Regions from separate parts of the Homo sapiens genome. Here regions 2, 3 and 4 are each linked to region 1. Evidence: promoter capture Hi-C in 16 types of primary human blood cells and fetal thymus (Javierre and others, 2016). All regions are on one chromosome and are shown on one strand. Each heading gives the region's core, a stretch centred on a gene start or on the middle of the fragment in contact. The rest is flanking DNA. Distances are from core to core; before and after follow the strand shown.

Region 1 (3,621 bases), core at 820-3,319:
ACTCTCTGAAGTCAGTATTCATCAAGAAATGGGTATTTGGGATGATCACACCACATGAGCATTTCTATGAAGCGGACATTTTCACTCCAGGCTTCAATGTCCTTGATTCAGTGAGAGAAAAGTCAAAGGCCTGAAGGTTTTCCTTGATCTTTTCAGGATTAAAGCTTTTAGGAATGACAACCACCCCTTGCTGGATGTTGAAACGCAAAATAACTTGAGCTGTGATCTTATTGCACCTTTTTAGAAGTGCATCCTTTAACGAAGGCAGAGAAGACATATTTGTCCAGGTTGGATTCCTAGTGGTCCCCAAAGGGCTATATGCAATCATGACAATGTCATGTTGTTGGCGAAATTTCAAAAGTTTTGGTTGGGTGTAATATGGGTGGCACTCAACCTCGTTGCTGACTGGCTTGGGTTTGAGTCCTGGGTTGTTCTGGATGAGCTCCAGCTGGCCTGCTGTTAAAACTGGATACTCCGAGGGATTTCACCAAGCCAGCATCTTTACAAGCTTCCGAAGTCTCCCAAGTGGCACACAGATTTGACTTGTGATATAACCATTTGCCATTCTCACCTATAGGGTAGATTTTGTCTTCTGGCTTAGCGGCCATGGGTATTTCAGTGATGTAAAGATCCACACAATCTAGCTGGAGGACCTTGAGCATCCTCTCTAGGCTCGGGCAGACCAGCTCTGGGTTGTGATTTGTAGCCCACAGTTTTCCACAGTAGAAGATATCCTTCCTCTGCACCTTTCCTTCTGCTATTTTCCCCCTGATGGCCTCCCCAGCTGTGTCTTCATTTTGGTATATGTAGGCTTCATCAGTGTGTCAGCACCCCAGACCAATGACAACCTTCACTGATGAAGACTCAGACTAAATGTAGAGACAGACTACTTGGGCTGTAGTGACATCTCTACCTACCACCTACTTGCTGTGTGGCCTTGAGTAAGTCATCGGCCCCCTTAGGGGTCAATTTAGGCTCTGAGTAGGTACCAAGTCTGATGATGGGAATGCTGTTTCCATCACTTAGAGGTATGCGGTGATTTGCAGGACTCACTTTCTTCATAGTGTCCTTTGATGCACAAAAACTTTTAATTGTGATGAAGTCCAATTTATCAATTTTATGTTGGATTGCTGTGACTTTGGATTATTGGCTATTCTTGTACATTAATTTTTTTCATATCAATTTTGGAATCAGCTTAACTTGTTCTAAAACTTTTTGTTGGTATTTTCAATGAAATAGATTGATTAATTAAGAGAGAATGGTGGTCTCCTTAAAAGAGAGCTTCCTATCAAAGAAGGGTATGCCTTTCCATTTACCCAAGTCCTTTCGGCGTTCTTCAGCAATGTTTTAAAGTTTGTTTCATATAGATATATTACAATTTTTAGACGAAGTTTATGTCTAGGTTTTAATGTTTTATTATTGTAAATTACTCTGGTGTTTAAATGTTGACAACTAACACAAGTGTTTAAAATACTATGTGAGCTACAGTATTTCACACAATGATCCAAATTCAGGCCAAGTTCAGATCTGCAACCTCAGATCTACTCCAGCTCTTTGCTTTATAGATAAGGAAGCTGAAGTCTAGAGATGTTGAGTGACTGACTCAACGCCACACAGCAAGTAGGTGGTAGGCAGAGATGTCACTAAAGCCCAAGGAATCTGTCTCTACATTTGTCCTGGACTCTAATCCAGGGTTCTGTCATTTTGCCAGCCACCATAAAATATTTGACAGTCTAGGAAAACAGCAAATGTTCTTACATCCATCGAGAACTTGTATTTGCCTAGAGATGGACTTTACCAATCAAGATAGGAATTAGATAAGAATTATTTTTTTTAAAAAAAGGAGCATTAAAACAATGGTCAAATGAGAGAAAAAGCAAAATTCAGACAGACAGATACATACACACACCCCAAACCCTCAAACCTCCAGGGCTTCCTGCCTGTGAACCGAAAGGGGGAGTGCGAATTTCTTGGCCCTGTCGGCAGGTGCTTTCTCAAAGGCCCCACAGTCCTCCACTTCCTGGGGAGGTAGCTGCAGAATAAAACCAGCAGAGACTCCTTTTCTCCTAACCGTCCCGGCCACCGCTGCCTCAGCCTCTGCCTCCCAGCCTCTTTCTGAGGGAAAGGACAAGATGAAGTGGAAGGCGCTTTTCACCGCGGCCATCCTGCAGGCACAGTTGCCGATTACAGGTAGGGCCGACGTGTCGACGGCAGGGAACTTCTAGAAACTCTTTGTGTATGTGTAGGGGAGTGGGTGTGGGTAGTGGAGGGTGGTGAGGGGCTGGGGTCTCCTTCAAATCCTGCCCTCCTCAAATCAATGGGCAAGTGAGCAGTGAGGGGTCCGGCCCGGTGCTGGCATCTGCTCCGTCACAGCCGAGTTGGGCATCAGTTCAGAGCCAGCTGCTAGAATACACAGCTCCTCCAGGTACAGATTTTTCGAGTGATAAGAGAGGAAGGAAGAAGGAAGCAAGAGAGCAACCGAGGCAGGCCCAGGGTAGAGAAACGGAGAGGGAGTGTTTCACAGAAGCTGGACAGGATCGGAAAATGTCAGCCAGGCCATGTTTCGTGCTGCGACGTTCTAGTCCCTTCAGCTTCTTTCACCCTCTGGCTGGCTCCGTCACTCAGCCCCTTTCTTTCTTCCTTTGCCAACAAAGAAGATTTTGTTGGTCAGTCAAGGTCATGGCCTGAAACACTCCAATGGGCCCGGGAGTAAGTGGGGTAACCAAGGAGGAGAGGGGCACAGGCAGGAAGCACCGGGTGGCAGCCTCCACAGCGCCTTCGCCACCTCATGGCCAAGCGTCCGTGTCTAGGCTCAGCCTTGTCATGGCTGTCCCCACACCCACGCCTGGGACTGCCGGGTGACGCACCATCCCAGGCTCCGTGACTCACCCCAGCCTGCCCCTTAGGCGGCCATCTAGCCCAGCCAGAGGGCCCGGCATTGACAGAACACGGGGCAGATGAGACGATGTGCCTGGTTAAGTCACCACCACGAGCAGCGCCCAGCCAACAAGAGTGCTTGCTCCTCACCTCATTCCCGATCGTGGGAGCCCAGCTTTGCTGCAAGCCTTTAGCTTCCACCATGTTTTCTAGCCCAGGTAATGAGGAAGAAAACCAGTGAAAAGAGGACAGGACAAACTGCTCAGGGGGATCAGCCTCGTGGCATCTTCCTGAGAAGTGGGGCAGGCTGAATTTCAATCTAAAGAAACAGGGAAGGTGAAGCAAGCAAATGTCCTCGGCCCACCTGATCGCTCCTGGTAACTCACCTGGGTGTGGGAATTTGTTTAGGGGCCCTGTTGGGAGGGCAGGAGAGGCCATGGGCACTTCTGCTCCCACCAGGGAGCCAGGCACAGCCCGGGCCAGCGCCTCGGGGGATTCTGAGGCCCGTGCAGCTGCAGGGGTTTCTGTCAGGTCACAGCTGTTTTCTCAGAAAAGCCTTGTGGGGTCTAAGTCACACACACAGTGTGGCAGAGTGAGGGTGCCTGAGCTTGCTCAGAGCAGCCCATCCTTGTGTGCTGGGGACAAGGGGACCCAGAACGCTGGAATTTAGTGACTTCAGGGGAGACAGCCAGGGGCAATAGCTCCAGCCTCTGAGCTTCAGGCTTGAGACACCACACCAGGGAG
Region 2 (3,621 bases), core at 352-2,851, 310 kb after region 1:
CTCCAAATATTCAGCAAGACAGATGAAATAGAAAAAGAGAAAACCAAAAAGAAACAGACTCAAAAGCAATAATCATTTCCACAAACCAGGAAGAGCACATAAATGCAGACCAGGAGTAGGTTAGCTGCCTTGAGGCAGGCAGTGGTACTTGGAATTTTAGCACCACAAAGAGGTGCTAAAATGGGCTTGGAACTAGGCTCTGGGCTTGGAAGCATCCTGCCCTCTACACACAGGTACACACACTCTTTTTTTTTTTATTTTGGTAATTGGTAGATATTTTAATATCTACATATTACATAAATCAAAATTCAAAACTCAAACTATAGCATTTTATGATACAGAGAAATCTCATGTTTACTCCAGTCTCACTTTCCCTCTTCTTTAGGAAATCATTTTTATTGGTTTGTTGTGTATTCTTCCAATGGCTCTTCTCGCAACTATATATATTCTTATTTCTCTTCCTTTTTTTTTTTTTTGAGACAGGATCTCTCTATGATGTTGCCCAAGCTGGAGTGCAGTGGCTATTCACATTCACAGGCGCAATCATAGCTCACTGCAGCCCAAACTCCTGGGCTCAAGTGATTCTCCTACCTCAGCCTCCCAAGTAGCTGGGACCACAGGCATGTGGTGTCTCTCGCTTTCTTAAAAGGATAGCATACCCTTTTACACAAAAGATAGCACACCATATGCACTGTTCTATACCTTGCTTTTGTCGCTTAACTGTATGTACAGAAGATTGTTCCATATCAGGACATGGAGATTTTACTTTCTTTTTTATAGCTCTGTGTAGTTCATTGTGTGCGTGAACCGTGGTTTACTCGAGTCCTCTCTTGCTGTACACATGCTATTTACAGATAAATGTTCTCTGTTACTCTCAATATCACAATGAACAGCCTTGTACCTATGTCATTTCACACTCCCACACAGTTTTGTAAATGGAGGCTGAGTAAAATTGTGGCCTAACTTCTGCCTGGGGCTACAGCTTTATAGGATGTTGAAGATTTAGCCAAGTAGGAAGACAAAGACACAGTCTTACAACCAGGAAGTCAGTAAAACCACCCGCTGGATCATTCTCCTAAGATCTAGTTATAGATTAGAAGCTTGAGAAGTAGGGTGGAAGTAAATGTAAAACTAGTAAACAGGCCGGGTGCAGTGGCTCACACCTGAAATTCCAGCACTTTGGGAGGCCGAGGCGGGCGGACCACCTGATATCAGGAGCGCCAGGAGTGGTCAGGAGACCAGCGTGGCTGACATGGCGAAACCCCATTTCTACTAAAAATACAAAAAGTAGCTGGGCATGGTGGCATGCACCTGTAATTCCAGCTACTTGGGAGGCCGAGGCAGGAGAATTGCTTGAACCCAGGAGGCGGAGGTTGCACTGAGCTGAGATTGCACCACGGCACTCTAGCCTGGGCGGCAAAGCGAGACTCCATCTCAAAAAAAAAAACCAAAAAACAAAACAAAACTAGTAAACAACAAATAAGAGAAAGAGGCTTCAAAACAAATATATACATTGGATGGATATAAATATATATTTCAAAAACGAAATACATGTGTTTATATATTAATATGTTATATTTAATTTAAATATTAAATAAATGGGGAATTACATTTGTATTTAATTTATGTTTAAGTTATGTTTAACTTATATTAAGACAATTTATCCTTTATGGAGGCACATGCCACCATACCCAGACAATTATTTTATTTTGTAGAGATGAAGTCTCACTATGTTGCCCAGGCTGGTCTCAATCTCCTGGACTCCAGCAGTCCTCCTGCCTCAGCCTCTCGAAGTGCTGGGAGTACAAGCATGAGCCACCACACCCAGTAATTTATCCAATTTGGCACCTAATCCATCAGGGCATCTGCCAGCTGTGCCCAAGGCCAGAGCATATCCGCTGAATTTCTGCCCACTTCATGAAATTTTCTAGGGGACATAGGGGTACAAGGAGCTTTAATAATCCTCTGACAAAGTTGAATGAACAAAAGAGCAAGAGAGAACAATCTGCCCCATTCTGGCAAATTGAGGACTGCAGTGCTTTGTGAGAGGCATCAGAAGCACCAATCAAAAGCACTAGCAGTGCTTGGAAAGGGAAGCTTAAGTAGACGAAGGAGTGTAAAATGAGGATGCCATGGGTAACTGATCACACCTATTGAGGAGGGAATAGAGTTATGATAATGGTTATGTGTGGGTACTGGCATCAGCCACACCCAGGATTGATCCCAGGCTTGCCTCTCACTGACTGTTTAACCTCACACGAAGATCTTGAAAGCCCCTGTACACTAGGGTCCTCCCCTGTAAGATGGGGATTGCAGTGCTTTCTTAGTGCTCCCTGTATTGTGTGTACTGATAGGATTTTGTGAGATACTTCTGAGATCTCACCAGAAATACCCACAGAAACCAGTCCTACATGTAGGCAGGGCAAGAGCCAGACACAAAAGCCACACAAGTCAGCATCTTGAGCAAAAGAAATAATAGGGAGAATGCAAACTGAGGTTTATTGAGCTATTATTCTTTTATTTCACTTTAGTTCCACAAATATCATTATTCAGAGATAAAAACCCTAAGTCCTTCCTGCAAGACAATCTGAGTCTACTGAGCATTCACCAGTGTGGGTAAAGTGCACATTGTGAAGTACGTGTAGATCAGGGGAGCTCAGAGCAGATGCATCTAACTCCTAACTCAGACAGGAATCAGTGGCCAGGAGTTGTTCAGAGCCGGGAGGATGAAGGCAAAGGAGGAGCCTTGGACAGCCACTAGCTTTTTGGGTGGGTGACTGGGGATCCCTTAGAAAGACAAGACATACAAGAGGGAGGTCATGGTTGGAGGTGAGGACCTGAAGACTGTTTGAGTGTAGGACCACTGCTTTCAAATAGAGGGGATGTAGGGTACAGGAAAGGGCTAAATGTGCATGACTGAAGCCAGCCCAATTGTCCCTAGAACTGATGTTTATGGTTTCTTTTGAATAAACATAGAAATTCATCCTCCCAGTCTTGAAACTTGGGAAAGTTACATATATATAAACTTCCACTGAAGCACTAAACATTTATTTTATCTGAGTTCCTTTCTCAGAAAACCAAACATCAGCCCTCCCAGATAGTATCAAGGAACTGAAACTTACCAGATCACTGCATCTGGACAGTGAAACACCAGACCCCTCACCTGTCATGAGTGCCTAGCCAGCCACCTGCTTCCTGTTGACCAACTCCTCTTCCTTACCCCTCACTAATTCTTGTTTTCCCATACGTGGTTATAGTTCTTCCCTGCTATATAAACTTCTAATTTTAGTTAGTCAGGGAGATAGATTTGAGACCAATCACCCATTGCCTTGGCTGCAGCACCTAATTAAAGACTTCTTCCCTAGTCATACTCATTGTCTCAGTGATTGGCTTTCTGTGTGGCAAGCAGAAGGACCTAGAGTGAACCCCTGGCATTTCAGTAACATTACCTCAGTTAAATCTTATGCCATTCTTGGGAAGTGCTATGGTTAGGATATGGTTTGTTTGTCTTCACCAAATCTCATGTTGAAATTTGATTCCCCCGTGTGTCTGTGTTGAGAAGTAGGGTGTGGTGGGAGGTGTTTGGGTCATGGGGACAGGTCCTTCCTGAATATCTTGGTG
Region 3 (3,621 bases), core at 403-2,902, 280 kb after region 1:
TTCAGGATGTGCCCTGCACTGTTTAGGGCAAAGTACACTCTAGCCACCCATCTGAGTAGCCAACTAGTCTCCCTGAACAACATGAAAATCTTATCACTCTACCTTCAATGATGTGCACCAACAAATGTAATTTCAAACCCAATGCAACCCAGTATTTACTCTGAAAACATTTCTTGATAACCTACCCTATGCCAGTAACCTTGTACTAACTGTGAACAAAACAGGTATTTATGGAAGATTGCCTAAAGAATATGCAGTATCTCCATTCTTCTAATTATTCCAAAATCTTTTCCCTTTTTAAGTCAGACCATTTTGAATAGTCCTCACTCAATATCCTCATCTCCCACCAATTAACTGCCTTAATGAAGGTGCTCTGGTATGATGCATTTGGCCTATACAGGGGCATTCTGAAATTTGTTGGTGTGTCCACAGTAGGAAGACTGTTGAGGGCACTGTTTATTACATTACATAGGGTCCTGTTTATAAGGCCTCTGAAGAGAAGTTTCCTTCTGATCTTAGTACCAGGAATTGTTGTGCTTTTCTTAAAAGTTTGTTTGTTTTCAAATTTTATGGGCATAAATTGACCAAGTTTTCCTTGTTTGCATCATCTACTAAGAAGTTTACAGAGTATTTGGGCCCCACCGGAAATAAATATTAGATTTTTATATTAGGTCTTTTATATTTTTATTTTGCATTTCTTGCCATACAGTTGATAAATCTCTATAAACCAACTTGAGAGACAAAATGAAACAAATAAATAAATGGATAAAATTTACATTAATGCATCTCAAAAAAATTTTTTAATTTAAGGGATCAGAAAAAAGGTCACATGAGAAATCAAGGGCTTACTCAAGAAATTAAGAATATATGGGCTGGGCATGGTGGCTCACACCTGTAATCCCGGCACTTTGGGAGACCAAGGCGGGCAGATCACTTCAGGTCAGGAGTTAGAGACCAGCCTGGCCAACACAGTGAAACCCCATCTGTACTAAGAATACAAAAAAATTAGCCGGGTGCGGTGGCACGCACTTGTAATCCCAGCTACTCGGGAGGCTGAAGCAGGAGAATCGCTTGAACCCTGGAGGTGGAAGCTGAAGTGAGCCGAGATCACGCCACTGCACTCCTGCCTGGGCGACAGAGCAACACTCTGCCAAAAAAAAAAAAAAAAAAAAAAAAAAATATATATATATATATATATATATATACACACACACATATATGGATTTAAAAAATAAAACCAGTAACTCAATTAACTGGAGGAACAGGGGAAGAGGAATTAAGGACAAAAGGGGAAAGAAAAATTAAAGAATACCCCCAAATAATGTATTTGTAGAAATCAGACAAATGGTAGTACAAAATGACTTTGTGTAAACCTAGTCAAGCTTACCATGTAAGTCACAAAATATTTACAAACATTTCTTATTCCACAGACATCACTCAAAATGGTAAAAATAACATACCGGCAGATGAAAAAGAAAATACAAAAATTACTTGATAAAAATGGCCAAAGGGTACCGGAAAAACAACAAACAAGACCAACAGGGCTGTTACTGTAACCTGTTTCTTTTCTGAGCTCTTTCCTCATCCATCCCAAATAGTAGGACAAAAACTTATGCATGCAACAATATGAATCTATTAACTTCTCAACATTCTAAATAACCCAGCAGAAAGTCTAGGTAGGCGTTTACACTCCCCAACACGCATAAGTATGTTCTCGTTAGATAGCCTCTCTCCTTCAAGGTCACTGTCATCTTTTCTCACCACTGACAGACTTTACAATGCTGTCACTGCTGTATGTTAACCCTAGTTCACAAGTATCATCACCATCAAGCCATCTCTACTCAGAAGTTAGATACCTTCCTCCTTATTGTCAGCTTCCTTAAATTTCTTGCTCCCCAAGTCCCAGAGAACTCCAAGCTTGCTAGGAGGTTAGGTGAAATCCAGCACTGAAAATATTTCAGGATTAGTCTTATCATTTCCAAGCCCTTGTGTAGGAAATAGACCCCTAGACTGCTAAAACTCTATTATCTTTCCATTTCTCCTTTATCCCTACCTCCCATATATTTGACTTAAAAATTAAAATTGCCTTTAGAGAAAGCAGAGTAAAAAAAATATGCTCACTCCAGTTCTCTGCTAAGAGAAACATTTTTGTCCAAGAGTAGGGTATGACTCTCCAGGACCACAGTGCCACAGCTGACCCATCCCTGCCCAGACTCTGCAACCATCCCCTTTCTATAAATGAACAGCTAATAGTGGGATGCAAGTAAAGCATGTGACTAACAGGTAGACTGATCCAAGCTCCACCTGCATCCCTAAGCTACTTCTCCAAAGAGGTATAGGAATTAGCTGCGGGGAAGGAGGTGGGGCAGGCACACGTCGAAAGAGAATATTTAAGAAGTCATAAATTTTCAGGAAAACTACAAGTATTCTGAAACGGCCAAAACAGGAAAAATAAATCATTGTTGTACATTTGAAAACTAATGATAAAAGATTTTATATTTAATAAAATTTAGTAAGATTTAATTTAATAAAAATTTAATAAGAAGATGTCGGCCGGGCGCGGTGGCTCATGTCTGTAATCCCAGCACTTTGGGAGGCCAAGGCAGGTGGATCATGAGGTCAGGAGTTCAACACCTGCCTGGCCAAGATGGTGAAACTCCATCTCTACTAAAAATACAAAAATTGGCCAGGCATGGTGGCAGGCGCCTGTAATCCCAGCTCCTCAGGAGGCTGAGGCAGAGAATTGCTTGAACCTGGGAGGTGGAGGCTGCAGGGAGCCGAGATCACACCACTGCACTCCAGCCTGGGAGACAGAGCAATCGTCTGTCTAAAAAAAAAAAGATGTCCAAATTAGAGTAAAAACATTAAAATTAAAGCAATGAAGTGTTTTTCATCAACCTAGGAAAAATTTAAAAGACTAATAGTTAACAGTGCAGGAGAAACTGACACTATTAAATACTGTAGATAAAAAATATAGAGTGGTACTAAAAGCAACCTGACGACATGTACAAAATTTTTAAGTGTGTATATTCTGTTAAAGAAAGTTTATGGGAGACTACTATTTTGGACTAGCCTCCTCCACTAGGTCTCAGCAGAACAGACCAAACCAGTCTTTGGTTTTCTGTTCCTGCATTAATTCACTTAGGATTATGGCTTCTGGCTCCATCCAAGTTACTGCAAAGAATATGATTTCATTAAAATGTTTATCTTATTTAAATGAGTGAACTAAAGAATAGAGAGCAATGGGGGAAAAACAGCAAGTATATAATAGGATATGCACTATGACTCCTTTTTTAAAAATTATGTGTACATGCATGACAGGAGCATGCACACCTAAGCGTGGACATCTGTCTGCAATACATAGGAACAAATCCCAGGAAATGGGCTCAATCACCAAACCAGTCTCGTACTGGTCCTGATGGCATTATGTAACTACTAAGATGTGATTCCAACAGCATAAGCCGGCAATGGCTTTGCCCCTATAGTCTAATCGCCTGAAATCATACTTTCCAGCAACACTCATAAATTGTTAATTCATCTTCTCAGACTATTGTGATGTTGAACATGTCTCTCATAACATAAGAGCATTTTCACCAATTCCTTTCTAACTAATGATGATTG
Region 4 (3,621 bases), core at 593-3,092, 260 kb after region 1:
CATATTCTTCATATAGGTGAGAAATTACTTCGTCTTTCTTGTCTCCTAAATCCAGTCAGTCACCGATTCTCAAAGATTCCACCTCCTTATGGTTCTTTTTTCCAATCCTCTTCCTCTCCAACTGCGACTCCTTTAGTTGAGGCCTCTGAATTGCTCTTGTATGGATTCTTGTGGCTATGTCAACCCATTTCCCTACCTCCATTCTCATACCACTCCAATCTATGCTTCATACCATCACTGTCATCTTTCTAAAGTTCAAGTCTACTCTTATTCTCCTTTCTTCATATTCTTTAATGTATGCTTGTTTTCAGCACCATAAAAACTATCTTATTTTTAACCATCCTCATCTAGTAATTCAATCATGCCAACTACTTGCAATTTCCAAAATGCTGTAAGCTGTTTCACACCTCTCTCTTTTTGTTCACATTGCCCTGCATACTGGAATTTACTTAGGCTAATCTATAGATTCATGGGTTCCACCTACTCTAAAACACTTAGGAGAACAAGATTCAGCTAGGCATTTCTATTCTTAGGAAACCTTTCCTGAGGTACCTAGTAGGACTTCTTGCTTTGTGCCCACACTATACCAACAGTTTCTCTTACAGCATCTATGAAACTTTACTGCATTTACCTATTTTGAGTACCTATTGAATGAGACTTGTTTTATTCCTATGGTACTCAAAAGCAAACGTGCATTAGAGTCATTTGAAAAGCTCTGTAAAAATACAGATGCCTGAACTTACACCACACCAAATATACCAAACAAGAATCTCCTAGATTTGGGGCCAGGCACGTACACTGTGAAAAAGCTTCACAAACAGATGATAATCTGCCTAAGAAAACCAATTCCCACTAAATATATCCAGCACTTCAAATTGTTCCTGGCAGTAGAAAAACAATAAATGTTGTAGAATGAATAAATAGGCAAATGAATAGTAAGTCTTACATATTGCTATTAATGATAGTCAACAAAAATCACCTAATGGAAGAAAATGAATGCTAACACACCATTTTTGAGCATTCTAGCTAAATATTTTTTCAAGACACTGGGGTAGAGGGATAGAGAAACGAACAAATGAAGAAATTACCTGAATCACCTTTTTCTCTGATAATGAGAACTAAACATTATCCTGTAAGTTCAACTGCTAAAGCCAGGGATAATAAATGTTTCTGATTATAGCATCAAGATACTCTATGGTTATGAGTCAGACTCTGAATAGTACTTGCTGATTGTTAACAATGAGTAAAATTAATACTGCCTTTTGCATGAACATTTTATGCAGTAAGAATTAAGATACATGTGAAACATGACTATGACATGAATTAAACTTAGGCAAGACACAAAGAAACAGAATTATCCCTACATCAAAATTCAATTTAATGAATATTTTCTGCCCACCTTCAGGGCCAGACACTAGTTTAGTTGTACTAGTAAGGTGAACAAGAGGCAAGTGGCTAGCCTCAGGATGCTAAGAAACAAATATTAATATATTGCAGCTAAAGCACATTAGTAACATTGATCGAACCTACATTAAATAGAATTGAGACTCCCAAATGTTTTATATGTATTCCATCATAACCTTTAAGTCAGACTAATATTATTATTTTACAAAGATTTTTTAAAAGAAACCGAGGCATTTGCCTGGTTTGAAAGAGCACTATCCAAAGTTTTCCTCTTCAAAAACTGTATAAAGTGTGAACAGGCTTTAAAAAAGAAAAAGTGCCAGTGAAGCAATTTAATTCACCATATAATACAGGAGTCTGAAATATTTTGCCCAAGGACCCAACCCAGCCAAAAGAGCTTCCATTCTACACTCTAGTCAAAAAACAAACCAATAAAAATTCCTAGATGGAGCTAAAGTCTGGGTATTCCTGAAGTTGCCTCTTTATCCTACCTGTATTAGAAAAGCAAGGAGCAAATAGAAAAAAATGAAATACGTATTAGAGGAGACATAAAAACTTTCCCTCAGCCAACATTTCTATTCTTTTCTCCACAGAGACAGGCAAACCTGGCACCAAATTAAAATGGGGTATGGGGGAAGGAGGACCTAAGATAAACTTTCTTTCTTAAAAAATAAAAAATTCTGGCTGGACGTGGTGGCTCAGGCTTATAATCCCAGCACTTTGGGAGGTCAAGGCCGGCGGATCACTTGAGCTCAAGAATTTGAGACCAGCCTGGGCAACATGGTGAAACCCTGTCTCTACCAAAAATACAAAAAATTAACCAGGCGTGGTGGCAGGCACCTGTGGTCCCAGCTATTCAGGAGGCTGAGGTGGGAAGATCGCCTGAGCCTGAGAGGCACAGGTTGCAGTGAGCCAAGATAGCACCACTGCACTCCAGCCCGGGTGACAGAGTAAGACCAAAAAAACCCAAAAAACCCATTAACCAATTATAATCCCAAGTTCCACTCTCCTGTGTGTTTGGGGGGGGGGGGGCAGAAAAATAAAGAATGAAACAGAATAGTAGGAAAAAATGACATCTTGTTCTACAAGAGAGTTAGTAAATGATTACAGGATTCACAGAGGCTCCAAGTTTTGTTTCTGACCCTGAAGTACAAACTCTTGGGCTGATGAAAGATAAAAACATAATTCAAACCATTAAAAGCAAGAGCAGTAGGCTTTTCTTTGAAGTGAAACTTTTGCCCTCTTAAGTGAAACTGTCCCTTGATAATTAGGTTTATCCAAGTTTCACAAGTATTTCAACAGTAAATTCATCATAGCATGCTCTTTGGGCCATCTCATTTTAAAATATGCATTGTAATGAACACATATGGTGATAAAAGAAGGCCATTTTTTAAGAACCCAAGGGTCCAATTAGATTATGTAAATCTGAATTAGATGTACACATCAATCAGTCAACAGTGTTCAAAGCTTCTGGCAAAATGGCGGTCAGCACAGTCTTTGGGCATAGAAATAACAGAAATGCTACCTTAGAGGGATACATGTTTTCTTCCCAGTGTCATTACACATAAGATCAAAAGCTATAAACTAGTCATCCATGTTAACCTGTTATAAACAAGAAGTTATCACAGTCAGTTACGTATTCTTAAAATAATTTAAAGATTTTCTAATGACCAGAATTACTTTAATTCATTTCACTGCTGTAGGACAGTTATGAACATTCTTTGGTTTGGAGTTTGCAACAAAGTAAAAAGCCAGATATAATAAAAGCTGCACCTTAACTATATAATTATTCAGAATATAGATATTAATTGGTTTGTGTTCTCAAATTACCAACAATGGAGTTTAATAGGGCGCTGGTTCCCCTTCAGTGAGAAAAATAAAAAATTAACATTAAAAACAGATTCAGGCCGGGCGCGGTGGCTCACGCATGTAATCTCAGCACTTTAAAATATTTCAAATAAGTATTTTAGTGGTGACTGCTGTTTTGTAGGCACAAACTACAAAGAACTACAAACATACGTGCTTCTCCTTCTTCACATGAAACCTGGACTGTTGGTCAAATATACTCTCTGTTGGTCTGTTCAGATAATCCTAATAGCAAATAGCATGGCCTTCATTTGTAAAAGCGTCTTAAAGGGATTCTGTTATAAGTTAAAAGGTAAGGAAACACATTTTAAAACATGGGGAAAACTCCAAGACCTCAGAAAAGAAATACAT

What was found. The method cuts DNA at HindIII sites, captures the fragments that hold promoters and counts their contacts. A CHiCAGO score of 5 or more calls a contact.
Region 2: a contact is called between a fragment that was not itself captured here and the fragment with the promoter of CD247 in region 1, in 1 of 17 cell types (fetal thymus). The highest score is 5.1, in fetal thymus.
Region 3: a contact is called between a fragment that was not itself captured here and the fragment with the promoter of CD247 in region 1, in 6 of 17 cell types (naive CD4 T cells, fetal thymus, activated CD4 T cells and 3 more). The highest score is 7.1, in naive CD4 T cells.
Region 4: a fragment that was not itself captured here is called in contact with the fragment with the promoter of CD247 in region 1 in 6 of 17 cell types (fetal thymus, naive CD4 T cells, naive B cells and 3 more); the score reaches 6.9 in fetal thymus.

The regions. Positions count from the first base shown.
Region 1 is chr1:167,516,977-167,520,597 of GRCh38, reverse strand. CD247 (CD247 molecule) reads left to right here and starts at 2,069. Exons shown (of 8, transcript NM_198053.3): 1 at 2,069-2,190. The coding sequence starts at 2,133. It also overlaps the pseudogene AKR1D1P1. RefSeq lists enhancers at 2,238-3,437, 2,709-3,621. The HindIII fragment of the contact is 3,961 bases long and covers 511-3,621 here.
Region 2 is chr1:167,208,768-167,212,388 of GRCh38, reverse strand. No RefSeq gene overlaps it. Among named protein-coding and RNA genes, the nearest start is that of POU2F1-DT, 10 kb to the left of the region's middle. The HindIII fragment of the contact is 997 bases long and covers 1,103-2,099 here.
Region 3 is chr1:167,235,331-167,238,951 of GRCh38, reverse strand. The region is part of intron 1 of POU2F1 (POU class 2 homeobox 1); the gene reads right to left. Among named protein-coding and RNA genes, the nearest start is that of POU2F1, 16 kb to the right of the region's middle. The HindIII fragment of the contact is 535 bases long and covers 1,385-1,919 here.
Region 4 is chr1:167,252,192-167,255,812 of GRCh38, reverse strand. All of the region lies in intron 1 of POU2F1 (POU class 2 homeobox 1), which reads right to left. It overlaps LOC124900412 (a long non-coding RNA gene), which reads right to left. Exons shown (of 2, transcript XR_007066718.1): 1 at 1-3,621. Among named protein-coding and RNA genes, the nearest start is that of POU2F1, 33 kb to the right of the region's middle. The HindIII fragment of the contact is 2,062 bases long and covers 812-2,873 here.